Regions from separate parts of the Homo sapiens genome. Here region 1 is linked to region 2. The links are contacts of gene promoters, found by promoter capture Hi-C in human tissues and cell types (Jung and others, 2019). All regions are on one chromosome and are shown on one strand. Each heading gives the region's core, a stretch centred on a gene start or on the middle of the fragment in contact. The rest is flanking DNA. Distances are from core to core; before and after follow the strand shown. Region 1 overlaps GNA15 (G protein subunit alpha 15). Region 2 holds the start of DIRAS1 (DIRAS family GTPase 1).

Region 1 (6,782 bases), core at 874-3,373, 440 kb after region 2:
TGGGTAATGGGTGGACAGATGGGTGGATGGATGGATGGATGAGTAAATGGAGAGATGGATGGGTGGGTCGGTGGGTGGATTTCGTAAATGGGTGGACAGGTGGATGGATGATGGATGGATGGATAGATGGGTAGATGGATAGATGGATGGATGAGTGAATGGCTGGATGGGTGGATGGATGGGTGGGTGGATGGATGATGGATGGATGGATAGATGGGTAGATGGATAGATGGATGGATGAGTGAATGGCTGGATGGGTGGATGGATGAGTGGGTGGGTGGATGGGTGGATGGATGAGTGAATAAATCGATGAATGGGGTGGGTGGGTGGATAAAAGTTTAGGAGTGAAGGTAGAGGCTGGGAAATCATGGGGAAGTCTGGGCCAAGGAAGTGATTTTTAGGTGTGGCCCAGGAGTGAGACGAATGAATGGAGTGAGGGCTCAGAGGACACTGAGACCCGAGATGAGAGGTGATGCCCACAGTTCCCAACTGGTCAGTTGCTGATCCCACTCCCGTCTCAGTCTCCAGAGCCCCCTCTCGACGGCTGCTTACCCTGTCTGGCTCTGGATGTGGGGTTTGAGGGACTCTGAGGATGCATGGGAGGAGTGGGTCTCAGGGATCAGGAGACACATCCAGCAGCTGCAGCCTAACTGCTTCATCATCAGTCCCGGTTTCCCCTCCTGTGCAATGGGGCAAGTCCCTTCTTGCTTGAGGCCCTGGGCCGGGCCCGTCCAAAGCCTCTGTTCTGGGACTTCCTGAGTAACGGTTGCATCCCCAGGGAAATGACGCACAGATGGTTATCAGCGACCCACATTTCTCAGAAGAGAGAGAACAGGAAGGTGGGGGCAGGGTTCAGGCTTTTGTTACGGTGCGTGGGGCTGAGTCACAGATGGAGGGGAGGACGTGTGCTCTGGGAACAGCCCTCATTCCCATCTGTGTGGCCACTGGACATGCCCATGGCCAGCCAGAGCACAGGAGCCCCATAGCACAGATGGGAAAACTGAGTTTTGGAGATGTTTGGCAATTTCCTCCGCCGGGTCGCCCAGCCAGCACCAGGGCACATCTCAGATCTGTCCAACCTGCTCCCCTCTAATATGGGGGTAGAAAGCAGGCAGCCCAGCACAGTAGAAGCTTGGGAAAGTCCCCGCTCCTCCCTGGATCTCAGGCTTCTCATCTGTAAAATGGGCGTAAGACTCATCCTTGCCTCGCGGGAATGACATGGCAAATCCACGAGAGGCTAGCACCTATTCTTGCTGTCGCTATTATGGATCTTGGCATATCCCAGACGTGATGGGGGTTGGGGGTGTCACGGAGCAGGCTCCTGAGCTCTGAAAGGGGGCACCTCGGTTCCCTGTAGGATCGTGGACGTCGGGGGCCAGAAGTCAGAGCGTAAGAAATGGATCCATTGTTTCGAGAACGTGATCGCCCTCATCTACCTGGCCTCACTGAGTGAATACGACCAGTGCCTGGAGGAGAACAACCAGGAGGTGCGCCACCGCCTCCCTCGCCCTGCCCACTTGTTGGCCCAGGGACCCTCACCTGAGCAGGAAGCTCTGGTGCAGAAAGGGAGGGATCCCTGCTCTTGAACGGGCCTGTGTGTGCCCAGCATGGCTATGAACTTGACCCTTCAGCCTTTTGTGGTCAGATTGCAGCAACCCAAGACACAGACCTACAGCATTTGTTTGGTCAGGACCCCAGACACACACACACACACACACACACACACACACACACACACTACAGTGCACACACGCACATACACAATGCATGCACACAAACACGCACAGACACGTGCATAATACATGCACATACACACGTGCACACACGGGACACATGTACACACGCAGTGCACATGCACAACACATGCACACGAACACACATGCACCACACACATGCACACTTGCATGCACTCACGTGCACAATACACGCATATGTACACATGCGCACACACATGAACACACACATGCACACACACAGTACACACATGCACACGCACACACAGGCACACACACGCACACACAGGCACACAGGCACACACATGCGTGCACACACACATGCACGCACACGCACAGGCTGGAGTGCAGTGGCGCGATCTCGGCTCACTGGAAACTCCGCCTCCCGGGTTCACACCATTCTCCTGCCTCAGCCTCCGGAGTAGGTGGGATTACAGGCACCCGCCACCACGCTCGGCTAATTTTTTTTTTGTATTCTTAGAAGAGAGGGGGTTTCACCATGTTAGCCAGGATGGTCTCAATCTCCTGACCTCGTGATCCGCCCGCCTCGGCCTCCCAAAGTGCTGGGATTACAGGCGTGAGCCACTGTGCCCAGCCAATAGCCTCTTTTAATAAGTACACCAGTCGTCTAGGATCAGGGCCCACCCTACTCCAGTACGACCTCATCTGGGTTAATTCCTCGTGTGATGGCCCTGTTTCCAAAGAAGGTCACAAACTGAGGTTCTAGGGGGTTAGGTCTTGAACGTATGAATTTTGGGGAAATATGATGTACCCCATAACACAAGGCATTTGAGACCTTATTGTACTTTTTTTTTTGAGATGGAGTCTCGCTTTTGTCGCCCAGGTTAGAGTGCAGTGGCGCGATCTCAGCTCACTGCAACCTCCGCCTCCCGGGTTCAAGCGATTTTCCTGCCTCAGCCTCCCGAGTAGCTGGGTTTACAGGCACCTGCCATCATGCCCGGCTAATTTTTTGTATTTTTAGTAGAAACGGGGTTTCACCATGTTAGCCAGGCTGGTCTCCAACTCCTGGCCTCAGGTGATCTGCCCGCCTTGGCCTCCCAAAGTGCTAGGATTACAGCCGTGAGCTGCCGCGCCCGGCCAGGTCTCCCTCTTCTTATGAGGACAGCAGTCACGGACTTGAGGGCCACCGTATTCTAGTATTGCCTCACCTTAACGACCTCTTCAAAGACCCTATCTCCAGGCCAGGTGCAGTGGTTCATGCCTATAACCCCAGCACGCTGGGAGGCCAGGAGTTCAAGAATCTCTCTCCAGATAAGGTCACACTCTGAAGCTCTGGGGGGACATGAATTTCGGGAGGACACACTTCCAACCAGCACAGGCACAAAACCATGTCAGGCACACCCAGGCAGCTGTCCATATGGAAACACGGGCACACCCGCCTCAGCCCCAGCCAGGCAGATAGGGGTGAGCCCATGCCCCTGGAGCCAACAGCCCCGTCTCCGCGATGGGAGGGTTTCCTGTCCCACCTGGCTGGTTGAAGCACTAACCTGCTTCTGCCCCCAACACAGAACCGCATGAAGGAGAGCCTCGCATTGTTTGGGACTATCCTGGAACTACCCTGGTTCAAAAGCACATCCGTCATCCTCTTTCTCAACAAAACCGACATCCTGGAGGAGAAAATCCCCACCTCCCACCTGGCTACCTATTTCCCCAGTTTCCAGGGTAAGTAATTCTAGAACTTTCTATACCCTTCAACTCCCAAAAGCAGCTCCGAAGAGAGATGCTAATCCAGACTCTACTTCAGCCTGGAGTCACCGGAACTTTCACATAGGATCAGACCCGCGTTCTAGACTCAGCTCCATCCACTGCCCGACCTCATTGAATCTGTTTTCCCTTCTGTGGAATGGAATAAAATAGCAGAGGCCCTTGGAACTGAGTAAAGTGAGGAATTCTAAAAACACGTAGCATATCACGTACACCTTAAACATTTTATTTATTTATTTATTTTTGAGACAGAGTCTTGCTCTGTCACCAGGCTGGAGTGCAGTGGCGTGATCTCGGCTCACTGCAACCTTTCCCTCCAGAGTTCAAGCGATTCTCCTACCTCAGCCTCCCTAGTAGCTGGAACTACAGGTGCGCGCCACCACGCCCAGCTAATTTTTGTGTTTTTAGTACGAAAAGACGGGATTTCACCATGTTGACCAGGATAGTCTCGATCACTTGACCTCCTGATCCACCCGCCTCAGCCTCCCAAAGTGCTAGGATTATAGACAGGAGCCACCATGCCCGGCCAAACATTTTATTTTATGCTTGTTGGCCAACATTTGGGGTTTGAGCCAAGATCCTTCAAGCATGGGTTTGCTATGTAGAGGTCACTGTTGTAAAGCACTTCTGGAAAGATTGTCTACTATTTCCAGAATCTGCCTAGGTTTTAAGAATGATTCTTTTTCTTTTCTTTCTTTCTTCTATTTTTTCTTTTTGAGACAGAGTCTCACTCTGTCACCCAGGCTGGAGTACAGTGGTGCGATCTTGGCTCATGGCAACCTCCAACTCCCCGGTTCAAGTGATTCTCCTGCCTTAGCCTCCCAAGTAGCTGTGATTACAGGCACGTGCCACCAAGCCTGGCTAATTTTTAGTAGTTTCCTGTCCTATTTTTAGTAGAGATGGGGTTTCACCATGTTGGTCAGGCTGGTCTCGAACTGACCTCAAGTGATCCACCTACCTCAGCCTCCCAAAGTGCTGGGATTACGGGCGTGAGCCACCGCATCTGGCCATAACGTTTCTTTTTCTAATCTTTCATAGTGATCTCATCTATCCCTAATTGGATAGCAATTTCTTTTTCTTTAATCCATTTTTTCTTTAATTTTTTTTTGTTTGTTTTTTGAGACGGAGTCTCGCTCTGCTGCCCAGGCTGGAGTGCAGTGGCGCAATCTCAGCTCACTGCAAGCTCTGCCTCCTGGGTTCACACCATTCTGCTGCCTCAGCCTCCCGAGTAGCTGGGATTACAGGTGCCCGCCAGAACGTCTGGCTAGTTTTTTGTATTTTTGGTCGAGATGGGGTTTCATCATGTTACCCAGGTTGGTCTCAATCTCCTGACCTCATGATCCACCTGTCTCGGCCTCCCAAAGTGCTGGGATTACAGGCGTGAGCCATCGTGCCCAGTCTATTTTTTCTTTAATTTCTTTTCTTTTTTTTTTTTTTTTTGAGATGGAGTTTTGCTCTTTTTGCCCAGGCTGGAGTGCAATGGCACAATCTCGGCTCACCGCAACCTCCGCCTCCCGGGTTCAAGGGATTCTCCTGCCTCAGCCTCCCGAGTAGCTGGGATTGCAGGCATGAGCCACCACCCCGGCTAATTTTGTGTTTTTAGTAGAGACGGGGTTTCTCCATGTTGGTCAGGCTGGACTTGAACTCCCGACCTCAGGTGATCCACCCGCCTCGGCCTCAAAGTGCTGGGATTACAGGCGTGAGCCACCACACCTGGCCTTTCTCTTTAATTTTTAAAGCAGAGCTTTGAACAATGTTTCCAAAGCACACAGCTTAGTTTTGTAATACAATGACCTTCTTTCATGCGGCACTTGTAGCTACAGATTTGCATAACGTTTCTTTTAATTACATATGAATCAAGACACGTACAATGGGCAAAAACAGGTTTGGGAACAAACTCTCAGTCCATCCAGAGGGTGAAAGGGCCACAGGGCAACTACAGAGAAACACCATCTAGTGTTGGGCACCACTTAGTATATTTTACAAAGGGGAGGCAGAGTTGTGGTTAATCCAGGGACCAACGTGGGGAAGGTACATATTCACTAGCACTTTCCCCAGAACACCACTGTGAGGATAAAGTGTGGTGGCGGGTGTCCTGCTTAGCTACTGCCGAGTAACAAACCATCCCCAAACTTAGTGACTTAAACTGGTCATTTTCCTTTGCTTATGATTTTGTGGGTCAGGAATTTGGGAAAGGTTGAGCTGGGTAAGTTCATCTCTGATCCATGTGACATCAGCTGGGCTCTATGGGATTGGAGATAAACTTCCAAGATGGCTTCTTCCCCCATATGTCTGGTGCCTTGGTGCTCTTGGCACTCTTGGCCTCTCTCTCTGTGTCTCTCCCTGCCTCCCTCTCCCATCTCATCTCTCTCTCCTCCCCTTTCTCCTAGTCTGTCTCTCCTTTTCCACCTCCCCTGTTCTCTCTGTCTCCATCTGGGGCCTCATGATCCACAGCCTCTTCACATGGTTTGAGCTTACTCACAATATGGCTGCCTCAGGGTAGACAGACTTCAGCCCAGGTGGAAGCTGCTTCTCATGATAGCCTCAGAAATGTCAGACGTTACTCTGCCACATTCTATTTGTCAAGCACATCACTCATATCAGCCCGGATTCAAAAGAAAGAGACTCCATCTCTTGAAGGCAGCATGACACATGCATACAGGGAGGGAAGGAAGTGACGGCAGCCATCTTGGAGATAACTTGCCTTCATGTCCTGGGGATGCCGTAACAAAGTACCACAAACTGGGTGGCTTAAAACAACAGGAAACAACAGAAGTCCAAAGTTAAGGTATTGGCAAGGTTGGTTCCTTTTGGAGGCTCTAAGGGAAAATCCATTCCATGCTTCTCTCTCAGCTTCTGGTGGTGGCCTACAATCCTTAGCTTGTAGACATATCACTGCAATCTCTGCCTCCATGTTCACATGGCTGTCTTCTCACCATGCCTTTATGTGTCCTCTCCTGTTGTTATAAGGCCACCAGTCATTGGATTTAGGGCCCATACTTTGGTATGACCACTTTTTTTTTTTTTTTTTTTTTTTGAGACAAGGTCTTGCTCTGTTGCCCAGGCTAGAGTCCAGTGGTGTGATCACAGTTCACTGCAGCCTCAACCTCCTGGGCACAGGTGATCCTCCCACCTCAGCCTCTTGAGTTGCTGGGACTACAGGCGCACACCACCACACCTGGGTAATTTTTGTATATTTCTGTAGAGACAGGGTTTCGCCATGTTGCCCAGGCTGATCTGGAACTCCTGGGCCCAACCACACATCTGTCATCCACCTGCCTTGGCCTTCCAAAGTGCTAGGATTACAGGCGTGAGCCCTCATGC
Region 2 (6,406 bases), core at 2,285-4,784:
GGAGGGCTGGTGCCAGCTGCAAGAACCCCAGACCGAGCCTGTGCAGAGAGGAGGGTCACACGTCAAAGGCCACCCAGGCTTGAGGGGACAGCCCCACGCCCCGGGGAGGGAGGAGGACATGGCGGCTTCTCAGAGGAGGTGGCTGCCGTGCCTCCTGCCTCCTGAAAAGGCCCATTTGCTTGTGGCTGACTTTGCAGTTCTGTCCCACAGGCGGGCGCACAGCCAACACCCTTTGCTTACTTCTCCCTAACAAAATCTGGGGCCTGAGCTTCCCCGGGGGACGCTGAGCTAGGAGAGGCGTGGGAGACGCCGGGATGCCCACGAAACTCCTTCCCCGGGTGTGGGTGTCCCTTCCAGGCTGTGCCAGCTTCCCCCTCTCTTCCCAGTGTGGCAGGGGCCCCTGGAAGCTAGCAGGCCTGGCTTCCACCTCTCGCTCCACACCTGCCTGGCTCTGAGACCTTGCCGAGCCATCATGCCACCCTGAGCCTGTTTGGTGGCTCAAACGGTGCCCGTCTCCAACAACCATGGGTCCCCTGCTCTTCCGCCAACCCAGAGATGGCCAATCCTCATGGAAGCCGCACATGGTCGGGTGTTTAAGATGCATATGTCAGGGCCGCAGCCCTAGGTGTGATGAATCGGTCGGCCAGGGCAACGGCCCTGGGAACTCGTATTTTATTTTATTCTTCTTATTTATTTATTTATTTTTAGACAGAGTTTCGCTCTTGCTGCCCAGGCTGGAGTGCAATGGCACAATCTTGGCTCGCCGCAACCTCCACCTCCCGGGTTCAAGCTATTCTCTTGCCTCAGCCTCCCAAGTAGCTAGGATTACAGGCATGCACCACAAAGCCCGGCTAATTTTATATTTTTAGTAGAGGCAGGGTTTCTCCATGTTGGTCAGGCAGGTCTTGAACTCCTGACCTCAGGTGATCCACCCACCTCGGCCTCCCAAAGTGCTGGGGTTACAGGCGTGAGCCACTGCACCTGGCCTTCTTATTTTTTTTAAAACCAAGTCTTGCTCTGTTGCCCAGGTTGGAGTTCAGTGGTGCAATCTCGGCTCACTGCAACCTCTGCCTCCTCGGTTCAAGCAATTCTCCTGCCTCAGCCTCCAGAGTAGCTGGGATTACAGGCATGCACCACCACACCCGGCTAATTTTTGTATTTTCAGTAGAGACGGGGTTTCGCCATGTTGGCCAGGCTGGTCTTGAACTCCTGACCTCAGGTGCTCCTCTCGCCTCGGGCTCCCAAAGTGCTGGGATTCCAGGTGTGAGACACCGCATCCAGCTGGAACTTGTATTACAGGGCTGCTCTCCTCACCTGCCATAAATGGGATCCTGAGGCTGGGAATCTGAGAACCACAATTTGCAAATCAGGGCACTGATTCCCAATAGCCGCCCCAGGGAGGAAGGGTCTTGCAGCCCAGGTGGGACACAAAAATACAAAATCCAGAAGCTGAACGGGAAAATCGCCACTCCCTAAACTCTAAAATCAAACTATGGCCTGGTGTGCCCTAGCCCCTCCCGTTCAGGTCTGAAGGATCCTTAGAATAGCACTTCCTGGGAGGGGCACCTCTTAGCCCCTCTCTTCCTTCTTGGGCTCAGAGAGGTCCAGCAGCCTGAGGAGGTCACACAGCACAGCAGATCCTGAAATGATGGAGGTGGGGGAAGAACGCTGGGGGGAGGGCGGGTGGCTTATCTCCAGAATTGATGTCCTCCCCTCCCCTTCCTCCTTCCAGGCTCTGGGGCAGCGGTGGGGGGTGGGGGAGGGGTGTTCCCCAGCAAGGTGGTCTACAGTGGGAGAGGAGGAGGAACCAGTTTCTACCTGCTGCACTGGGGGTGGGGGTGTGTTTATGGGGAGGGTCCAGAGGTTCCCCGGGGGTCAGTGGTTTGAACCTAAACAGGCAAATTCAAGTCCCTAAGCCTCCGTTTTCTCTTCTGTGAAATGCGAGCCACTGTTGGGGCAAGTAAGGTGACAAGGTGGAGAAAGGCCCTAGGCAGTGCCCTGTACAGCGGAGACCCCGATCACAATTGTGATCACAGTCACAAGGGCTTGGGGCCGGTGGGCAGGGCACTTGGCTGTGCCTGTTGGTTGCAAAGGCACCTTCTGGATTATCAAGGGTAACAGATTTGCCAGGAAAAGAAAAGAGGCTGATGAAAGCGCCAGCTGACACAGTCCCCAGTTGTGATGAGCCAGGCAAACTTCTGGGCGCCTCGGCAATGCCAACTCATGTGATTGGCTGCCGGGTTTGTGGACTACATGCATAGTAATTTCTCGGCATTCGGAGGAGGCTGGGGGTGCTGGTGGTGGGGGGGAGGCGGCCTGTGCTGCAGACCCTGCCCTTTCCTGGGTGGGCGCCCTGAGAGGCGGGCACGCTGCTGTGCAGAAAGACGCCACCAAGACCGGCCTGGGGTCCTAATGGCCATGGGTTCTGTGGACCCAGATCCAGCCTTTGCCTTGCTGCGGGCACTGAAGCTCCAGCCCCCATGAGCAGTACTGTCCTCCCCGCTGGGTCTGGAATCCCTGACCAGAAAGGCGCTTGCACTCAACAGCCCCGAAGCCCACGCCACTTCCCACCTCCACCGCCTGGGGGGTGCGGGTGGAGGGAGGGGGTCGTGGGCACCGAGGCAGGAGCAGGAGGGGCTGGCTCAAGGTCACAGAGCAGGGGGGTGGAGGCGCACAGCGGGGCTGGAAGCCCACCCTGCTTGGCTAGACTCCTGGGGTTTCCCGCCTGTGCGGGGCAGCCCACCCCCAGACGTCCAGGCAGGGCCAATCTACCCCAGCCCTGGGTCCCTGAAGCCCGGCTCCCGGCCGGGCACGGCGTGGTTGGTGGGGGCGGGGGTGTCAAAGCAAAGCTCAGGGTCAGGAAAGCAGAGAGAGCCGCGACCCAGGGGTCTAGCGGGGGTCACGCCTGACCAAGGGTGGGGCGGGGGTCTGACCCAGGGCCGCCTGGCCGGTGAGGGGTTTGATGGAGAAAGGGCCTGCTCTAGGGGGCCCGAGGGCGCAGAGGCACAGTGCGGGGCCAGCCCAGGGGCGACCCTTGACTCAGGAGGACCTCAGTGGTGGAGAGGAGGAGCCCACCCCGGGGAGGGGGCGCGGAGGGAGGGGCTTGGCTGGGCAGCGGGGCGGAGGGCGAAGAAGGCGGCTGCAGGAGGGAGGAGGCCCTGCCCGAGGGGACCAATGCGGAGAGGGGCGGCGGGGTGGGCCTCGGTGGGGCGGGCTCGGCAGGGGGGCGCCCTCCGGGTGGGGGAGGGGAGGCGGCCGGGAGCTGTCCAAGGTGAGCGCGGAGGGGCCGGCCGGGCCCGGCGGGAAGGGACGGGGGACGCCCGGCGAGGGGCCCCGGAGCCACGCGGGGAAGGGCCCGGCCCCAAGGCCCGGGAGGCTGGGGCCGGGACAAAGGAGGGACGCGCGGCGGGGAGGACGGCCGGCTGGGGGCTGCGCAGGGACCCCCTCCCCGCCCCGGGCCGCCTACCTGGGCCCGCTGGTCCCTGCGGCGCCGCGGCCGCTGCTCCTGCCCGCTCCGGTGTCCGCTGGCGCCGCCGCCCCCCGCCCGCCCGAGCCGCCGCAGTCGCGCCCGCGCCGTCCCCGCCCGCCGGGCCCCGCGCTCCGCCCCGCCCCGCCCCGCCCCGCCCCGCCCCGGGGACCCGCGCCCACGGGGCCGGCGCGCCGCCCGGCCAAGGTCACCGCCGCCCCACGCGGGACCCCTGCCCGCGCCCGGGGTGGGAGAGGTCGCCAGGATCCGGGACCCCCGCCCTGCCACGTAGCCACCTGCGCGCGCCCTCCCTCGGGGTGGGAGCTGGGGCCGCTTCCCGGGGAACCCCGAGTGGGGGCCAGGAGCCCGGCTTGGGAGGAGCAGAGTCCAGCCGGGGGTGGAGGGCTTTGGCAGAAATGCGGATAAAGGGGGTGCAGAACGGGACCCCTGAGGCCGGCTGGGGCCCGGTCACACGCAGGGCGGGGAATCAGAGGGGTGCGTTGTGAAATGAGTAAGTCGATAATCAACAATCAATGAACAGGTTTAGAAGCGGGCAGAGGCGGGAGGGTTCAGGTCAATGGGGTGCACCTGGAGGCCCACCCATCCCAGGGGCCTGGGCAGGGGCGGGATGGGGGCAGAAGCGGACTCAGCGCTCTGTAGGGCTGGTTTTGTGGAGGCGGAGGCAGCCCATGGCAGTCAGGCCTAGGGAGGTGGGGGGTGAGCAAAGGGGGCTGGCGCTGCTCTGCAGCGGATGGGTTTGCCGTTTTCGGTTAGGAAAATGTTTGTGTTCCCCCAACAGGAGGTGTCTTAGGGGAGCACTGGCTTTTCTGATGCGTCTGTGTGTCCACAAGAGACCATGGTTCCGCCTCCATTTTGGAGACCGGGAGGCCGAGGTTCCTTTTGGCCTCATCGGGCAGATCCCAGAGGAGACTGGACTTTGGGGTCTAGTGACCAGGCCAGAAGGTGCTCTCAGGGGTGGGTGCGGGACAGTCCCAGGCCGCAAGGCTGTCAGAGGAAGGCGCCCCTTGGTGGAGAGGCCAACTCTGGGACCCACAGGGGTCTCTCCAGAGTCAGAGCCATCAGTGGGTGAGAGGCTGGTCTGGAAGGTGGTGAGCTCCCCATCACCAGGCCTGTGAGCAGGTGAACCCCTTGGGCCCTCAGCTCCTGGGGTTCTCCATGACCCACCATTTCCATGGCCCTGGATGAGGTGGGCCCATCTGCCTCTGCGGAGACTTGGCACTGCCTCCAAGACCACTCAGTCCCCTCTCCTGTTGCCACTGAGGCTGGGGCACTGAGGTTCAAGCGGCTTTGGGGCTCAAGGAGCTCTATTTCTCCCTGATTTGACCCCACTCCCCCTCCTGGCCTCCAGACCCCTTCCTCCAGCCCTCCTTCCACTCTGCCACTCAATGCTCCAACTGCAACATGGGCCTCCCCTGCTCTAACGCCACCCATGGCTCCCTTCTCCCAGGCCAAGGTCCAGCTTCTCAGCCTGGCATCCATGGCCCGGCCTGAGTGCTCCTGGCGTGCACCTCCCTCCCACCCTGACCCCAGCCCTGCGGGAGCACCTCAGAGCATGGCCCGGCCCCTGACCCTCATCTGGGGGTGCCCTCAGCAGGAGATGGAGACAGCCCTGAGGGCAGACAAATCCCAGCTTCTGCTCTACATGGCTGCCTGCAGGGAAGTGCCTTCTCAAGCATCGGTTCCCCCATCTGTGAGTGACGTCACTGTTGCCCGCCTGTAGGGTTGCTGGGAACACATGGGCAGGGCGCCCACCTACACGGGGCTGCTGGGCACCCAAGCACTCAGACGGCAGCCCTGCCCCTTCCCAGTCCGCCTGCCTGCCTTCGTCTCCTGAGTGACCCACCAGCGTGGGGCAGGGCGTCGGGCCGGCTCCCTGTCTCCTCCGGGCACCAGCTCAGGCCGGGGCAGGCTGACTCATGCGTAGGAGAGTGGGCAGGGCGGTAACTCCACGCTGCGGCTGCTATTTATAGCTCCCAGGCCAGGCTGTGGGCCGCGTGAGCCGGCGAGGCCAGGCCCTGTTCCCCTCCTCGCTGTCCCTGAGGAACGGGGTCTCCACACATGGCCCGCGGTGCCCAGGCCACAGATGGCAGTGAGCTCTTCCGAGCACCCAAACTAGGACAGCAGGAGCTTCTCCCCCATGGTGGGCCGGGGAGCAGAGGGTTCCGCCTGGCCTTTGTGAGTGGGGGTGGGTGGGCGCCCCAGCTCTGCCTCTCCATGGAAAGGTCCGTGATCCAAATCTCAGGGGCCAGGGCACTTGCACACTGGGGCACTGAGCAAGCCGGGGCTGGCACTGGAGTTTCCTGGGTTCCCTGCTGCCTCTCATACCCGAGTCCCTCTTTGGAGAGTCCCTCGGCATCCTGAGAGGCACAGAGGTGGGCGAGGAGGACTGAGGCCGGCTGCATCTTTGCCAAAGAGAAGAGGACCTGTCAACCTCTCCAGCTCGCGAGCTGGGCAGGATCCACAGGCGTCCACGTTGAGTCCCCAGGGTGAAACCCACCGGGGCAGTCTGCATGGGTCCTGCAAACACAAAGTGCCAGTGTAGTGGGTGCTGGGCCCTCAGCAGTCTGTACAAGGCCACTGTCCCTGCTCCCATCTGGAAACTGCTGCTCAGAGAAGGGAAGCGGCTCGCCCACGGTGGCCTAGTGGGAAAGAGGTCGGTCCGGATCCATCAGGCTCTGAAGCCATAGCCCAGCCTGCTGGGGATAGACGGCCACCCCCTTGTGATCCTCTTGCCCTGTCCCTGGCTATCTGCAGTCTTGTCCTGGGGACACTCGGCCGGTCCTGCCTTACAGATCTCCTTTCAGCAGAACAGCAAGGGACGGCGTTCATCTGCAATGTCCAGCTCCTCCCCCGGCCCTGCAGCTCCACGACCGCTCTCCTCACCCTGCTGCCCTGACCAGGGCCACGTGGGCCTCACTG

The links. Contacts are between HindIII fragments. The study calls those that stand out against the background at their distance.
Region 1: a fragment that was not itself captured here is called in contact with the fragment with the promoter of DIRAS1 in region 2 in 1 of the 25 tissues and cell types used here (dorsolateral prefrontal cortex).

The regions. Positions count from the first base shown.
Region 1 is chr19:3,154,466-3,161,247 of GRCh38, forward strand. It overlaps GNA15 (G protein subunit alpha 15), which reads left to right. Exons shown (of 7, transcript NM_002068.4): 5 at 1,358-1,487; 6 at 3,263-3,416. It overlaps GNA15-DT (GNA15 divergent transcript), which reads right to left and starts at 710. Exons shown (of 4, transcript NR_110670.1): 1 at 553-710. RefSeq lists enhancers at 326-1,283, 571-900, 941-1,030. The HindIII fragment of the contact is 4,542 bases long and covers 1-4,394 here.
Region 2 is chr19:2,717,838-2,724,243 of GRCh38, forward strand. DIRAS1 (DIRAS family GTPase 1) reads right to left here and starts at 3,535. Exons shown (of 2, transcript NM_145173.4): 1 at 3,467-3,535; 2 at 1-38. RefSeq lists an enhancer at 5,740-6,406. The HindIII fragment of the contact is 24,571 bases long and covers 1-6,406 here.